Linked DNA regions of Homo sapiens: region 1 is linked to region 2. Evidence: promoter capture Hi-C in human tissues and cell types (Jung and others, 2019). All regions are on one chromosome and are shown on one strand. The core of a region is centred on a gene start or on the middle of the fragment in contact, and the rest is flanking DNA. Distances in the headings are between cores, read along the strand shown.

What was found. Contacts are between HindIII fragments. The study calls those that stand out against the background at their distance.
Region 1: a fragment that was not itself captured here is called in contact with the fragment with the promoter of FRRS1 in region 2 in 1 of the 25 tissues and cell types used here (lymphoblastoid cells).

What each region holds. Positions count from the first base shown.
Region 1 is chr1:101,474,483-101,477,356 of GRCh38, forward strand. No RefSeq gene overlaps it. Among named protein-coding and RNA genes, the nearest start is that of LINC01307, 150 kb to the left of the region's middle. The HindIII fragment of the contact is 3,779 bases long and covers 1-2,874 here.
Region 2 is chr1:99,764,767-99,767,904 of GRCh38, forward strand. FRRS1 (ferric chelate reductase 1) reads right to left here and starts at 1,869. Exons shown (of 17, transcript NM_001361041.2): 1 at 1,841-1,869. The HindIII fragment of the contact is 12,687 bases long and covers 881-3,138 here.

The DNA of each region.
Region 1 (2,874 bases), core at 121-2,620, 1.7 Mb after region 2:
AGAAGACTAAACATGTCCAGAAAGAGCTTCAATAGAAAAAAAATTCTTGGTGAAAATTGAGCTTCCAATATGTGTCTATACTTGAAAATTGAGTAGTGGAATTGAATAATTACATGCTTATTTTAAGCTTAGAAAACATCTTTTCCTCCATTACTTCAATGTTTTAGTTGAAGAGCCACTGTGACCTGCATACACATTAAACAGTCTCTATTGACTATAATGGGAATAGGAAATGAAGAAAAAACAAGTCACCTATAAGGTATAGTTTTACTTAGTCATGAATAAGGAAATGTCACATTTTAAAGAGGTAATATCTTACACTTATTGGTTTCTGAATTTGTTTCAGCTAAAATATCATATCATAAATGATGCAGATTTGTGCATATTAGAAAAGTTTTCTTGACTGTACTGTTTTCTCTCATCTGGTCTGACTTCGTAGAGGTAATTGCTGTTAACAGTCCCTATGTCCATTATACCTACAAATGCAGGTTCTTTTCCCCAAAGAGACTACAACTGGGGCCCTTCACAGAAGCTAGACTTTGCCATAGAACTTTCCTAGAGTTATAGGTTGGAAAAGAGCTAGAGAGCAGATGGTATATGTTCAGAGGCTGTTTCGCATTTTCAGATCTTATAAGAAAAGCATGCCACTTATACAACCCTAAGTTTTCTGCTTTAGATCTACCTGATGTTTGCTGTATGACAAATTTCATCACCTGGCGCAGGACCATTCTGGATGAGTGGTATTAAGACACTGCCATTCTGTATGGCAACGCCTTAGGGTATAGCAGCCAAAAATAAATCATTAGTAGGTTATTACAAATCATTGGTAGGTATTGGGCTTGTAACACAAAAGCTTATTGACTATATCTGTTAATTTTTTAGAGATAGCTTATCTTGGCAGTTTAATGGCTGCCTTTGGAATAGTCCCTGATATCACACAAGGTCCATTTTGGTCCTTTGATTTTTATTCTCAGAAGAAAACACATATTTAGATTAATTTAACTTAAGAATGAGAAAAACTGGTCTCAATTTTAAAAACTTCTTTCAAACTGTTAACCATTGAAAGAGAATTTTGGACAGCTTTCCTCTGCCACCAAGCTTCTTCAATTTATACTTTACAAAAGCCCCAAAACTAGAAAATCCTACAATAAATGGTTCAAAGTATAGAAGGACAGCTAGACAATGCCATTGAGCCTGTGAGACTTGCAGGAGAGCATCCTGAAATTAGACAGGTGGTGGTACCAAATGCTTAGGATACTGGCATATGAGATCAATTGCATGCTGTCCTAGAAGACTGTTGTACTTACATCCCTACAGACCTCTCTAGGATCTCTCATACAACTAAAATATCCAGGAAACAACAACAAGAAAAAGAAATGATACAATTAGGTTACTTGTCTCATTGGTTTAGTTTGGGAATGAGCTCTTTTCTCTTGGTTAAATTTGGATAGCCTTGACTCCCTTATCGTGAATGGACTACAAGTTTTGATGACTATCCTTCAGTTAGCATTTCCATTTTTCAGTGATCAAATATACGGTATTTAGAGGCTTAAATGCTGTGTGTGTGTGTGGGGGGGTCACTGTCCCATCAAATGATCCAATAAATGCATTTTCCACCAAAAGAATAAGCAAACCTGACCCTTAACTGGTGTTGGAATGATTACCATCAGAAGGTCCACACACAACTAAAACAAGTCATCCAGCAGTATGGAACTGAATGCACAGATAATGCCCTATCTTTCATCTTAGGAAGAAGCATGATCTAATGGGTTACTGTGTTAGTTTTCTGCTGCTGTGTTCAAGTATTACCACAAATTTGGAGGCTTAAAATGACACACATTTGTTACCTCATGCTTTCTGTGGGATCTAGGAAATCTAGGAGTGGCTTAGCTGGGTCCCCTGCTCTACGGTCTCCCAGCATTAAATTCTCAATTTTGGTTGAGGCTACAGTCTCACTTGATGTCCAGTTGCGGAACAATCTGCTTCTAAGTGCACAGGATTACTGGCAGCATTCATTCCTAGTGGGTAGCTGGACCGAGGACTTCAGTTTCTTGCTGGCTATCAGCTGGAGACTAGTGTCTTGCCACTCAACCAAAGGTGTTTTCTTCCTTAAAGTTAACAAGGGACAAAATTTAGCAAGAGGAATATTATACTCTTATCCCATCACCTTTGCATTATTCAACCAGTTAAGAGCAAGTCATGGGTCACAAGGCATGAATATCAGGAAGTGGGGGTCATGAGGCCCACCTTATAGTTTGTTCACTCCAGGGGCTGAGAATTGAAACCCCCCAATAATATCCTGTTCCTGTGTTAAGTTATATTGTGGTTAAGAATACTTCCTGCCCATGTGTTCAGTCTTAACGGGACTAGGAATATTTTTCTGTACCTATTAATTCAAAGAAATTAGAAATAGGTAAAATCCTAAAATAAGAGTTCATTTTTAAACTATTTGATTTTGTGAGAATAAAGGTATTTTAAATGTGATGGGAAATTTATTAAACCTGAAATATTTTGCCCAAATCTAGGAGCAGCTGATGACTCATATAATTGTATTAGTTATCTATTGCCATGCAATAAATTATCCTCAAAATTAGTATCTTAGAACAATAAACATTTATTATCTCACACAGTTCTGAAGGTCAGGAATCAGAGTGTCATAGGTAGTAACTTCTGACTTATTGTCTCCCATGTGGTTGCAGTCAAGATGTTAGCTGGAGTTGTAGCCACTTGAAGGGATTGAAGAATCCACCTCCAGGCTCACTCACATGGTTGTTGTCAGGAGACTTCAGTTCTTCACTACGTGCATCTCTTTCTCTGGGGTAGTTCAAGCAACATGGCAGCTGGCTTCCACCCATAGTGAGTGATATATGAGAG
Region 2 (3,138 bases), core at 619-3,118:
CTTGCATGAGGATTAAATAAAATACTATCTCCAAAATATCTAGCACAATGACCACCATTAACAAAGTCTCCCATATAAAACTGTCTTCCTTTCTTGGATTCTTGCCTAATTCCACCAACCTGAAATAACTGTTCACTCCATAAGCTTTAGTTTTTCCTAATAAATTTTATCATGTTTTTCTGCCACATTTGGTGACTTGTCTTTTGGTAAACCTCTGGATATCAGTAAAGGTGTCCTACACATTGATCTCCATTCATTCTGACTAGCAGACAACCTTCAAAACAGTACTCATACAGTGTGATTGTTATGTGAATTTTGAGAAAATCCAATATTAAAAAAGCTGACAGGTGTGAAACAGAGAGTACACTTCACCAAAAAAATCAACATACTGGCTAACTAAATGACGAACTAAAACTCACTTCTCCAACCTAACAAAACCATCTCTTAAAAGGTCTTTGTTTTCAATAAGCTGATAGATCAAATTAAGCCCCCAACTTCAGTTCTATCCCAGTATAATACTCAAATCTTACCACTTTTTTAAAAATACAGAAGTGGCTGGGCGCGGTGGCTCACGCCTGTAATCCCAGCACTTTGGGAGGCCGAGGCAGGCAGATGACCTGACGCTGGGAGTTCGAAACCAGACTGACCAACATGGAGAAACCCCGTTTCTACTAAAAATACAAAATTAGCCGGGTGTGGTGGTGCCTGCCTGTAATCCCAGCTACTCAGGAGGCTGAGGCAGGAGAATTGCTTGAACCCGGGAGGCAGAGGTTGCAGTGAGCCGAAATCCCGCCGTTGCACTCCAGCCTGGGCCACAAGAGCAACACTCCGTCTCGAAAATAATAAATAAATAGGCCAGACGCGGTGGCTCAAGCCTGTAATCCCAGCACTTTGGGAGGCGGAGGCGGGCATATCACGAGGTCAGGAGATAGAGACCATCCTTGCCAACACAGTGAAACCCCGTCTCTACTAAAAATACAAAAAATTAGCCGGGCGTGGTGGCGGGCGCCTGTAATCCCAGCAGTATACTCAGGAGGCTGAAGCAGAAGAATCGCTTGAACCCGGGAGGCGGAGCTTGCAGTGAGCCGAGATCGCGCCACTGCACTCCAGCCTGGCGGACAGAGCGAGACTCCGTCTCAAAAATAAATGAATAAATAAATAAATAAAAATAAAAAATAAAAATACAGAAGCAAATGAAAATATCTGAACTGAAAAGTTTAGCTATGTTAAGAAATATTCCTAATAACACATTTACAATTTGAAAAATCCCCTTTACCCTTTAGGGCAGTATGACAAGCACACACAAAAATAAGTGCAGTGATAACACCTTGCCACCCTGGAGTCTTTCTGAAATTTTAACGACACACCAGGGCTAGGGAGTGGGAGGGTAAGGGGACTAAAAGTTCTAGATAAAAAGCCACTTTAAAAACCAAATAAGGTTCTAAGTGACCCTGATATAGGTAACCATGCCACTAGCTTTAAATATAAAAAAAGAGTTCCTACAGTTTTAAATTTAAAATTAAAAACAAAAAAAAAACTCCTGCAAGAATAAAGTCAATGATTTTCAGGATCCCAAACACGTCTCTACTTATAACCACCCATATCTTGGAATTAAAGCTTGTTAGTCAAAGTCACAGGACATATTAACCTAACTCGTTAGTGAACACTCATTAGCTCAATTCAAGCTCCAGAACATAGTTTCGGAATACAGCACCCGTTCTGCCTGGCCGACTGCCCTGGTCAGCACAGGCACTCGCTCTCCAGTCTGTCGCTAAGCTGGATTTGATTTTTAACGCTTTACAAAGAGCTTTGACATTAAGGAAAAAGACGTGACACTTACCTTGAGAAGCGAAGGCAGCCTAACCAACTTCCGGTTTTGTTACAACTTGTATCACATTTCAGCAGCTGGGTGGAGCCAGTTAAGCCTTGAGCCAAAAGGGAACCTTTCCCAAACTAAGCTGCAGAACTTGATTTGCAAGACCAGTGCTAGTTTTAGGACTCCATTTCTGAAAACTTAGAATTCTGTTTTACACTAAGGAACAGTGTTTGCCAACTAGTACCTACTTCGCCACAAAAATTATAGTTTTTGTGTTTAATTGCAAAACTATTTGAAAATACCTGTTCTATAATAGTGCTAAGTAAAAGCAAATTAACTTTTAAAAAGTGGAAAAAGATCAGATTGCATAGAACCGAAACCTTTCTGCAGTGTGAATGATATAATGCAAAAGAAATCTTTTATTTTGCAAATTACCCCTGAAATTTAGGAGTTTTGTTTCTTTTTAAGCCTTTAATCTGTTTCACAAGACTCTTTTGCAAAAGAAAAATTTTAGGGCTAGGAAAAGACAATGTAATTGAATTTTTAACAATCTTTGTTTTTATTTTGTTTTTTGTTTTCCTGTTTTTTACTTTTTTTCTTCTCTTTAATGTAATTGAAAATATTAAACATTCCATTTCAGACCTTGAGTGACATTGTAATTGCCCAGTGGGTTCACCTTGCCCGCTGTCTAGACAGAGCCGATTTATCAAGACAGGGGAATCGCAATGGAGAAAGAGTAATTCACGCAGAGCTGGCTGTGCAGGAGACCGGAGTTTTTTGTTTTGTTTGTTTGTTTGTTTTGTTTTGTTTTGTTTTGAGACGGAGTCTCTGTCTGTGGCCCAGGCTGGAGTGCGGTGGCATGATCTCGGCTCACTGCAGCCTCCCCGTCCTAGGTTCAAGCGATTCTCCTGCCTCAGCCTCCCCAGTAGCTGGGACTACAGGCGCCCGCCACCACGCCCGGCTAATTTTTGTATTTTAGCAGAGACAGGGTTTCACCATGTTGGCCAGGCTAGTTTGGAACTCCTGACCTCAAGTGATTCCACCTGCCTCAGCCTCCCAAAGTGCTGAGATTACAGGCATAAGCCACCGCGCCCAGCCCGGAGTTCTATTATTACTCAACACAGTCTCCCCAGGATTCGGAGATCAGAATTTTTAAAGATAATTTGGCGGGTAGGGGCTTGGGAAGTGGGAGTGCTAATTGGTCAGATTGGAGATGGAATCATGGGGGGTCGACGTGAGGTTTTCTTGCTGTCTTCTGTTCCTGGGTGGGATGGCAGAACTGGGTGAGCCCAATTACCGGTCTGTGTGGCATCAGCTGATCC